Regions from separate parts of the Homo sapiens genome. Here region 2 is linked to region 1. Evidence: promoter capture Hi-C in 16 types of primary human blood cells and fetal thymus (Javierre and others, 2016). All regions are on one chromosome and are shown on one strand. Each heading gives the region's core, a stretch centred on a gene start or on the middle of the fragment in contact. The rest is flanking DNA. Distances are from core to core; before and after follow the strand shown. Region 1 holds the start of CD9 (CD9 molecule). Region 2 overlaps LOC105369625 (a long non-coding RNA gene).

The links. Contacts are between HindIII fragments. The CHiCAGO score rates a contact against its expected background, and 5 or more counts as called.
Region 2: a contact is called between a fragment that was not itself captured here and the fragment with the promoter of CD9 in region 1, in 1 of 17 cell types (monocytes). The highest score is 5.5, in monocytes.

What each region holds. Positions count from the first base shown.
Region 1 is chr12:6,197,772-6,203,124 of GRCh38, reverse strand. CD9 (CD9 molecule) reads right to left here and starts at 2,725. Exons shown (of 8, transcript NM_001769.4): 1 at 2,560-2,725. The coding sequence starts at 2,625. RefSeq lists enhancers at 178-789, 790-1,402, 2,629-3,240, 3,241-3,853. The HindIII fragment of the contact is 13,626 bases long and covers 1-5,353 here.
Region 2 is chr12:6,253,166-6,258,518 of GRCh38, reverse strand. The region is part of intron 2 of LOC105369625 (a long non-coding RNA gene); the gene reads left to right. Among named protein-coding and RNA genes, the nearest start is that of PLEKHG6, 55 kb to the left of the region's middle. The HindIII fragment of the contact is 6,294 bases long and covers 1-5,353 here.

The sequences.
Region 1 (5,353 bases), core at 1,476-3,975:
CTCTTGGCTACATCATGGGACTAGAACAAGAAAGGCTCTAAAGACTAACACTCTGCACAAGTGGACCGACCACAGTCTTCCTTTTCATTACATCATCTCCTAGGGATGAGGGCTTCATCTCCACAGGGACCCAGATACAGGACAAATGAACAGTAATTCAGGAAAACATAGCTACTGCCCATCTTCCTGCCTCTGATGAAGATGGAAGAGGACAGAAGTAAAGTAGGGGCCCCAGGAATTGTAATACTGGCTCTGTCTCTGCGATCCTGGGTAAATCACCCCATCTCTCTTCCTCTGCTGCCTCACTATGAATAAGAGAGCTGGACTGCATGATCTTCAAAAGTCATTCCAAACATTTCCAGTGTGAGTGATTTCTGTTTCAGACTACATAGGTCATCAGCTGCACCTAGGCTGGGGCCAGGCATAGGGGGTTCTGAATACGAGTGGGGTGGCAGGCTGAGGACAGTACGGACAGATTGCAGGCCAGCAGGCCACAGACAGAGTAGATACCAGTGGCCCTGTGAGCCTCGCATCAGCTTCCTGCATATGCCATGGGGCAGATGGGGGTAGGGAGGCACACTGTGGCAGTCTGTGTTTCCCTGCAGTCCCAAACCTGGATGCAGTCTAGGCAGACAGCTGAGGACTAACCAACACACCAGCCGGGAGAGACTGTACCTGGGAGGGGAGAGGAAAACTCCCAAAGTTCAAGGGTGGGTGAGGCCAGCTGCCTTCCCGCATACTTTTCTGCTGCCAGGGATTGGTGAAAGAAAGAAGCTAAGCGTGGCAGCTGGGTGGTTGCTGGGGTGGGTGGCAACACAGGAGGAGGGGTGCCCACGGCCAGCAGGGTCTTTTTAAAGCAAGTCAAGGGTTGGGAAGGAGCACACCTATATGCCGTCCTCACTGGGGTGTGTGTTATGGTGACTGATGCACTGGGGGAAGTCAGTCTCTGCAAATTGGAAAAACTGTTCAACCACCCCTTCAGCTCTGGGGAGGAGTGAATCTTAGAAGATTTCCCTAAGGAGGCTTGTGGGGACCTCAGTGACCAGCTCCAGGGGGAATAAGTGCATTTGTTTCTTTTCTACTTTTTTTGAGACAGGGCTCACTAGGTCACCCAGGCTAAGTGCAGTGGTGCAATCATGACTCACCGCAGCCTTGACCTCCCAGGCTCATGCCATCCTCTCATCTCAGCCTCCTGAGTAGCTGCGATCACAGGTGCATGCCAACACGCCCAGCTAATTTTTTATTTTTTTGTGGAGATGGGGGTCTCACTATGTTACCCAGGCTGGTCTTGAACCTGGATGAAAGCGATCCTCCTGCCTCAGCCTCCCAAAGTGCTGGGATTACAGGCATGAGCCACTGTGCCTGGCCAAGTGCACTTTTTTGTTACAAGACTCTGGTGGCATGCACCTGTTTCTACATCCATCTATCTTGAGAGTGGCATAGAGACTCTCTTCCTGCCTGCAGAGCGGCAAGTATTGTCATGTGTGTGCAGGGAATGTGGCTATAGAAACAAGGACACAAGGGTTTCCTATTCCTTGCTTCTGTCGCCTCTCAGCCTTCCCATTTGTAGAGGCTGAGTGGCCTGCAGCAGGTGTCTCTGGAGCTCCTGGCCCCGCTGGCCTCTCCAGATGAACGTCCGCTCTGCGCCCTGCCTGGCCTTGGGTGGGCCGCCTGGGCTGGCGGGGAGGGGAGAGGGCAAGGCCAAGGCTCTCCTGGGCGGGCAGCTGGCTGGCACCTGATCTCTCCCGGAAATGCACACACAGGACTCATCCCACTAGAGGCGCAGATAGGTATCTGCCCCCTCCTCTCCCGAACTCTGAGTTCTCTCCAGTGAAGATACTTATCGTCCTTGAAAGAAATCAAGACAAGCTAGTCTTTCAGGGAGCTACCAGGGAGTTCGGCGCTCTCACGGTGGCTCAGAATCAAAGTCTGAGGGAACGGGGGCCTGCGAGGTTCCTCCTCAAGGGTGGAGGGGCCCCCGACTCTCAGGGACTGGGTCCCGGGGCCGGACCCGCGGCCGAGGCACCCCTGCCGCTCCTGCGTAAAAGTGAGAGCCGCTCTTGGCTGAGCTCTCGCCGTGCCCGCACCCTCCCTTCCTGGCGCCCCCTACTACCTGGGAGACCCCACCCGGTCACAAGCCATACTGCTCACCACAGTCCTCCTTGGCCTTGGCCCAAAGAGGGGTGCTCCGCTTCTCCCTGCCTTCCTCTCTGGCACTCGGAGGGACTTGAGCTGGGAGCAGACACACACCCCAGCTCAAATCCTAGGCGAGCTAAAGTGCTCAGGACCCTCCCGCACGCCTCATCTCAAGAGGGCCCGGCTCCCCACGCCGGCTGGGCGGTGATGAGCCCCCACCCGAATGCGCCCGTCGCGGCCGTCCCGCCCGGCTCTGGACCCGGCCTTGGAGCCAGCTGGCAGCCGCAGGGCGCTCTCTCTTCCCGCCCGGTGCCTGCCCGGTGCGGGCAGTGCCAGCTGCCGGCACTCGCGGCCGCGGCCAGTGTCCGGGGCCCGCGAACAGGTGGGCCCTGAGAGGAGCGCGCGGCAGTCGCGCTCACTCACCCAGAAGATGAAGTTAAATCCGAACAGCAGGTATTTGATGCACTTGGTGCCTCCTTTGACCGGCATGGTGAGGGCTAACTTAGCCTGGGCCGAACGGGTGCGGGACTGGGGGGCGCGCGCAGCTGGGACTGGCGGGACCTGGCGCTGGATACAGATGCAGGCGGCTGTAGGCTGGTCTCCGGCTGCACTTTTAAAAAGTGCCACTCCTTAGGGCGCGCGACCCGCTGCGGTGCGCATGTGCCGGGAAAAGCCGCCCCCACTCCCCCCGCCGGCCACGCCTCCCGCCCCACCGGCCCCGCCCGGGCCGCACCCCCCCCGCCCCCCGCCCCCGCCCAGGTCGGCGAGCCCCGGCCCCAGCTGCCCCGCGGAGCCCGACCCTCTCCCTGTTTCCCCGCCTAGTCGCCCTAACCCCCACCCGCCACCCACTCCTTCTTCAAGCCGTCTTGGGGTCTTTGCAGGCAGCCACTCCCTGCCACTTTTACCGCGGACTTACGTGGAGGCCTCGCCCTTCCGGTTCCCCCGCGTTTGGTCTGGGCGCCGGACCGGGCGTTCTGCTTTGGGAGACTCTTCCCCGGGTCGTCAGGGCTAAAGGCCCCTTGGCCAAGGCCTGCTGCCAGAGTGAGGGGCCCTTCTGCTTTGCGAGGATTTAAAGGGAAGCCGCCTGGCTTAATTTCGCCCTCGTCTGTCTCCTTGCAAACCTTCGCTCGCTGACCATACTTTTCATTGGGCACAGCATGTGGGGTAGGAGGAATTAGAAGCGCGCAGTCTGGGTGGGATGACAGATGGGAGGCTTTTGGAAGTAATTAGCAAATACCTATCACCGAATAATAACACAGCTGAGGGCTGGGCAGTCCCCAAGCGCTTCCTGCACTTGAGGTTTAGTTGCCCCAGAGGGAAAAAGGGTCTGTAGACGGCTTCTGTTTTCTCTCTACTCCTCCACCCCACCCTCCCTCCTGCGTCTTTGGACTTGCTCGCTGCTGCCTTGAACTGCTCCAGATGCCGAGCTCGGAGCGCTTCTCCTGAGCTCACAAACTTTCTGTAGCTCTCCAGATTCAAGGACCTAAGTCGAAATTCCTCGTCTTGCCCTCAAGGCCCTGTACAGAGCACTGATCTGACTTCTCCCGGACCCAGAGCCCACCCCACTCGCTGGCCGGCATGCGCCCTGGCTGGCTGGCCCCCCCCCAACGTCACTTGTAGGAATTCTGTGGGTCTTTAAACACTCCTTTCCTGATTCTCTGGAGTGGACGAGGAGAGTCACCTTCTTTTGAAGTCCCCGAATCCCTTTGTATTATTTTCAAAATGAAGTTTCCTTTACTGTCCTTTATGATTACAAAAGCAAGATACAGTCATTACAGAAACAACCGAAATACCAAGAAGTGAAAGGAACAGACCTCAAAATTCTGCTCACCAGAAACAGCCACTGTTAGCACATTGCTGTTATTTGCCTGTTTATTATCAGTAGACTTGTCTCATTGGTTCAAAAACATTTTTCAGTATCTATTAGGGTATTTCATTAGGGGTAGGAGCTGAAAAACATGGATTAGTCCTTGTTTCTGCTCAGGGACCAGTGTGGGAGGAGACAGGCAGCCAGACAATGGTTTGAGGGTGATAGGTGCAGTTACGGGGAGAGGCTTGGGGGCTAAGAGGCTAAGGAGAGGCCTCTGACCCAGACTGGGAGATGATGCTGCAGAACCACAGGGAAAGTTGCCGCCAAGGGAGAATCCTGGGCAAAGGCTGGGGCAGGGGCTGTCCGGGCTCTGGGCTGGAGCCTGGAGTCACGGGGTAGTTTGTGGGAAGGTGAGAAAGAGCCTTGTGCTCCTGGACTTTGCACTCTGAGCATTAGGGGCCACCGAAAGGTTCAAGCAGGGGAATGGTTGGATCTGCTGTGTTTTCAGAGGTTCTCTGCCTGTGTTTTAGGTAGTTGGGTGGGGGAAGGCCGGAGGGGCAGGTAGGAAGCCCCTTGAGGACCAGGACCATTGTTGGCATCTCCAGTCCTTGGCTCAGTGCTTTACGGGATTGCATGGAACATGGAGATGTTGTATTTGGGGAGACGCAATCAGGTAATATGAGGGGAGCAGTGGTAGATGAAAGTTGAGCTGAGGACCAGGTGCAAATCTGCTAGGAGGCTGTGGAGTAGTTCAGGTGAGAGAAGAATGAATGAAGGCGGGGCAATGGGATAAAGCCTAGAGAAGGCAGGGCAAAACCCCATGAGGTGTCAGGCCGGGAAGGGGAGGGAGAGATCAGAGGCAGAGCAGCAGAAGCTAGTAACAAGTAGGGGCACAGGGCACATCCCCACGTCAATCTGAGTCCGAGAGGCTCCCCAGAGCAGGGGACATTGCAGCAGCTGACTTGACTTGGGAAGGTGGAGTCAGTAGTCAATGCGGAGGAGGGAATTCCAAGAGGGAACTGGATATGCAAAGACACAGAAGCGGGCAGCTGGCTGCACTGGGGAAACAACCGATAGTGGTACATGGGGAGGAAGGAGGACAAGGAAGGAGAGGCAGGGCCTAAACTGAGCCTAATGCCAAGAGGACAAGCAGAGGAATTTTGGTGATGCTTGACTTTACACATCCTAACCAGTGTCCAGGATGATTCCAGCACAGGGGAGGAGTGTGAAGCACCCTGGAGGGTGGGAAGGAGGCCGGAAAACAGTCAGTGTTCCATTGTGCCCTTTTGGGCCTGCGTCCATCTATCTTGGGAGACAGGTCTTAGGAAAAGAAAGATTTTATTGCATCTCCCCCTTCTCCCAAGTTAACAAGTACTGGTGGGAGGAGTTCAGTAAATATTTAAGTTT
Region 2 (5,353 bases), core at 1,371-3,870, 55 kb before region 1:
AAACTTCAAAGGAAAGGATGACTCTCTTGCTAAGGGCTAAGGCAGCTGGTGACTTTAAGTTGAAACCAATGCTCATTGACAATTCCTAAAATTACAGGGCCCTTAAGAATTGTGCTAAATCTACTCTGCTGTGCTCTATAAATGGAACAATGAATCCTGGATAACAGCATGTCTGTTAACCATTATACTATGGTTTACTGAACATTTTAAGCCTTCTGTTGAGACCTACTGCTTAGAAAAAAATATTTATTTCAAAATATTATTGCTCATGGACAGGCACTTTGTCACCCAAGAGATGTGATGAAGACATACAAGGAGATTAATGCTGTTTTCATGCCTGCTAACACATTGATTCTGCAGCCCATGGATCAAGGAGTAATTTTGACTTTGAAGTCTTATTATTTAAGAAATACATCTTACAAAGCTATAGCTGCCATAGATAGTGATTTCTGTGATGAATCTGGGCAAAGTAAACTGAAAACCTTCTGGAAAGGATTCACCATCCTAGATGCCATTAAGAACATTCGTGATTCATGGGGGGAGGTCAAAATAGCAACATTAACAGAAGTTTGGAAGAAGTTGACTCCAACCCTCATAGATGTCTTTGAGGGGTTCGAGACTTCAGTGGAGGAAGAAACTGTAGATGTATTGGAAATAGCAAGAGAACTAGAATTAGAAGTGAAGCCTGAATATGTGACTGAATTGCTGCAATCTCATGAGAAAACTTTAATATTAATATTTAGTAAACCATTCAAAGTAATGGCAAAACCACAATTACTTTTGCACTAAACTAATAGATGAGGAGTTGCTTCCTATGGATGAGCAAAGAAAGTGGTTTCTTGAGACGGAATCTACTTCTGTGAAAATGACAACAAAGAATTTAGCATATGACACAAACTTAGTTGATAAAACAGTGGCAGGGTTTGAAAGGACTGACTCCAATTTTGAAAGAAGTTCTATTATGGGTAAAATGCTACCAAATACCATTGCAGGCTACAAAGAAATATTTTATGAAAGGAAGAGTCAATCAATGCAGAAAACTTCATGTTGCCTTATTTGAAGAAATTGCCATAGCCACCCCAAACTTCAGCAACCATCATTCCGGTCAGTCAGCAGCCATCCATTAAGGCAGAAAGATATGACTTGCTGAAGGATCAGATGATTGTTAGCATAATTTTTTTTAGCAATAAAGTATTTTTAAATTAAGATATGTACATATTTTTTAGACATAATGCCATTGCACATTTAATAGACTACTGTGTAGTATAAACATAATTTTTATATGCACTGGGAAACCAAAACTTTGTGTGACTCACTTTATTGCAATATTTATTTTAATGCAGTGATCTGGAACCGAACCTGCAATGTTCTCTGAGGTATGCCTGTACGCTGAAATAGTTTAAATGTTCTTGTTTATTTTCCTTTTTTCCTTCTTCATTTTTTTTTTTTTTTGAGACGGAGTTTTGCTCTTGTTGCCCAGGCTGGAGTACAATGGCGCGATCTCGGCTCACCGCAACCTCCAGCTCCTGGGTTTAAGCAATTCTTCTGCCTCAGCCTCCCGAGTAGCTGAGATTACAGGCATGCACCACCACACCCGGCTACTTTTGTGTTTTTAGTAGAGACGGAGTTTCTCCATGTTGGTCAGGCTGGTCTCAAACTCCCGACCTCAGGTGATCTGACCGCCTTGGCCTCCCAAAGTGCTGGGATTACAAGCGTGAGCCACTGCGCCTGGCCCTTGTTTATTTTCTTATTGTCTGTTTCCCCCCAATAAAAACATGTTCACAGGCCAGTCTTTTGTTTTGTTCACTCCTGTATCTTCAGTACCTTAGAACAGTGCTTGGCACAGAGTGAGCCCTCAGTAACTATTTTTTTTGTTTGTTTTTTGAGACAGAGTTTCACTCTATCACCCAGGCTGGAATGCAATGGCGCGATCACCGCTCACTGCAACCTCCACCTCCCGGGTTCAAGCGATTCTCCTACCCCAGCCTCCCTAGTAGCTGAGATTACAGGCGCCCACCACCACACCCAGCTAATTTTTTTGTACTTTTAGTAGAGACGGGGTTTCGCCATGTTGGCCAGGCTGGTCTTGAACTCCTGACCTCATGCGATCCGTCCACCTTGGTCTCCCAAAGTGCTGGGATTATAGGCGTGAGCCACCGCACCTGGCCAGTAACTATTTATTAAACAAATCAAGTAATGGATTGTTATTATTATTATTATTATTATTATTATTATTATTATTATTTGAGATGAAGTCTTGCTCTTGTCCCCCAGGCTGGAGTGCAGTGGCACGATCTTGGCTCACTGCAACCTCGGCCTCCCGGGTTCAAGCGATTCTCCTGCCTCAGCCTCCTGAATAGCTGGGATTACAGACGCCTGCCACCAAGCCCAGCTAATTTTTGTAGTTTTAGTAGAGACAGAGTTTCACCATGTTGGCCAGGCTGGTCTAGAACTCCTGATCTCAGGTGATCCACCAGCCTTGGCCTCCCAAAGTGCTAGGATTATAGGCGTGAGCCACCGCACCCAGCCCAAGTAATAGATTATTATGCCCTATGTAATCTAAATCAGATAAAGGGGAAGTGACATCAGGAGGATGTGAGAGACAAGGAGAAGGTGGTAAGGTCAGTGGATGAGAGGTTTTGGGTAGGGTAGGACTGGAGTGAGTTCGAATGACAGAAAGGGATTGGAGACTGTGATGCTTGGATTGAGCTAATGAAGGGTCTCTTTTTTCTACTTTATTGGCTACTTCATCTCAGTCTTCATTGCTGGTTTCTCCTCAACATTTAAAAAATTTAAAAAGTTTAAATGTAGAGATGGGGTCTCAAACCCCTGGGTTCAAGTGGCCCTCCTGCCTCAGCCTCCTGAGGGTCTGGGACTACAGGTGCACCTTTGTAGTGTACACCAGTGCACCTGGCTCCCATCAACATCTCAATCTCTAAAACTGGAGTGAAGTAGTAAAAAAAAAAGTCTGGGACAGTGTTTTTCAAATTGAGAGACACAGCCCATTAGTGGATCATAAAATTAAGTTAGTGGGTTAAAACCAGCATCTATAAAAATGAAATAGAATAGAATAGAATAGAAAATAGCAGAGCACATTGCATGCAGCAAGGATATGTATCATATCATAAAACTTTCATTTCAATTTTATATATGTAGATGTGGATTTTTTGTTTTTGTTTTTGTTTGTTTGTTTTGTTTTTTGGAAATGGAGTCTTGCTCTGTCGTTCAGGCTGGAGTGCAGTGGCACGATCTCAGCTTACTGCAGCCTCCGCTTCCCAGGTTCAAGCGATTCTCTTGCCTCAGCCTCCCGAGTAGCTGCGACTACAGGCACCCGCCACCACGCCCGGCTAATATTTTTGTATTTTTAGTAGAGACAGGGTTTCACTGTGTTAGCCAGGATGGTCTCGATCTCCTGACCTCATGATCCACCCACCTCAGCCTCCTAAAGTGCTGGGATTATAGGCATGAACCACCGTGCCCAGCCAGATGTGTGTATTTCTATATGGTGCCTGTGTGTACTGAGTCACACATATGGTTGGGTCATGGACAAACAAGTTTGAAAGCCTTTGGCCACAGGAGTGAGTGAGGAGGTCAAAAAACTGAGAGGCCAGGTCATTGGAAAGATTTTATCGTAAATCCTGAAATTACCAAGACTTTCTAGGGGTAGTGCTCAAATACAGAAATTTTACCGGGCTTGAAAATCTTCAAGACATGTCCCAGTGAGTCTGTAGATGGTTGCAACGGCCGGTGCTTAGTCCTTTCTCCAAGATCTCTAATTGTACCCTTTCCTGCCCATTCCTGGACTTTGGCCTGCTGCCAGCTCTTTCCTCACTAGTGCACCCCAAACTGCCTTAGTAGCCTGAGCAACCCGCCTCCAACACTCTGGGTCCAGCCCCAGTGCCGAGTTTCCTCATTCATACCTCCTGCTGTCTCCAAGGGCACCTCGTGATCATAGCAGCATAATGACAAGGCTGGCCATCATTTACCGGGTCTCTCCATATGCTCTGTTTGGTAGGAATTGCCCCTCATTTTATTTTATTTATTTATTTATTTTTTGAGATGGAGTTTCGCTCTTGTCGCCCAGGCTGGAGTGCAATGGCACAATCTTGGCTCACTGCAACCTCCGCCTCCCAGGTTCAAGTGATTCTCCTGCCTCAGCCTCCCAAGAAGCTGTGATTACAGGTGGCTGCCACCATGCCTGGCTAATTTTGTATTTTTAGTAGAGTTGGGGTTTCACCATGGGGTCAGGCTGGTCTCGAACTCCTGACCTCAAGTGATCCACCCGCCTCGGCTTCCCAGTGCTGGGATTACAGGCGTGAGCCACTGTGCCCAGCCTGCCCTTCATTTTATAGAGGAGAGCCAGGAGTTTAGAGGTTAAGTGATTTGTCCAAGATCACTCAGTAAGTGTCAGAGCCAGGATTTGATCTCAAGTCTGTCTCCCTCCCTACAAGGCCTTTGCAATGTACCCCACAGCCTCCCTCACCAGTTATCTGAGTCACTCTTGCAGATTCTCACAGCATGAAATTCAGATTTCACGCTTCGATAACAGCTACGAATCACTCCATTTCATGAAGAATGGGGTCTCTCACAGAGTTGAAAATGTTAAAATTCTTTTTTTTTTCCCCCAAGATGGAGTCTTGCTCTGTTGCCCAGGCTGGAGTGTAGTGACACGATCTCGGCCCACTGCAACCTCCACCTTCTGGGTTCAAGCAATTCTCCTGCCTCAGCCTCCCGAATTAGCTGGGATTATGCCCAGCTAATTTTTGTATTTTCTTAGTAGAGACGGGGTTTCACCACGTTGGCCAGACTGGTCTCGAATTCTTGACCGCATGATCTGCCTGCCTCGGCCTCCCAAAGTGTTGGGATCATGGGCATGAGCCACTGTACCCGGCCTGAAAATGTTAAAATTCTTGAATGGCTACTGTCCACACTGCATGTCAACCCTGCCCCCAGAGCTGTGTTGGGGACATAGAGAGAAAGTGAAGACCTGAAGACCCAGCTCCTGGCCTCAGGAGATTACAACCAGAGTACTGGAGACCTTAGAGATTAGACAGGTTATCTGCATTTCACAAATGCCAGCACGGAGGCCTGCGTCACAAAGCAGGAAAGAACAGACGTCTTGGAGCACGAAGTAAGAATCACCTTGTTGCAATTATTTACTGACTCCTGGGTCACTCCCCATCATTTCTTGAAGGTTTTAGTGTCTGGTAAAATATCACTCTCTCTCCAACCCTCTCCCTATAAAATCTTCAAAATACAGATCTCCTGCCCAGCAGTTTATACCTTTCACAGGTTGAGATGATGAAAGTACAATGTGGGGGATAGATGAGTCTGGCTCACAGTGTTAGGGCCA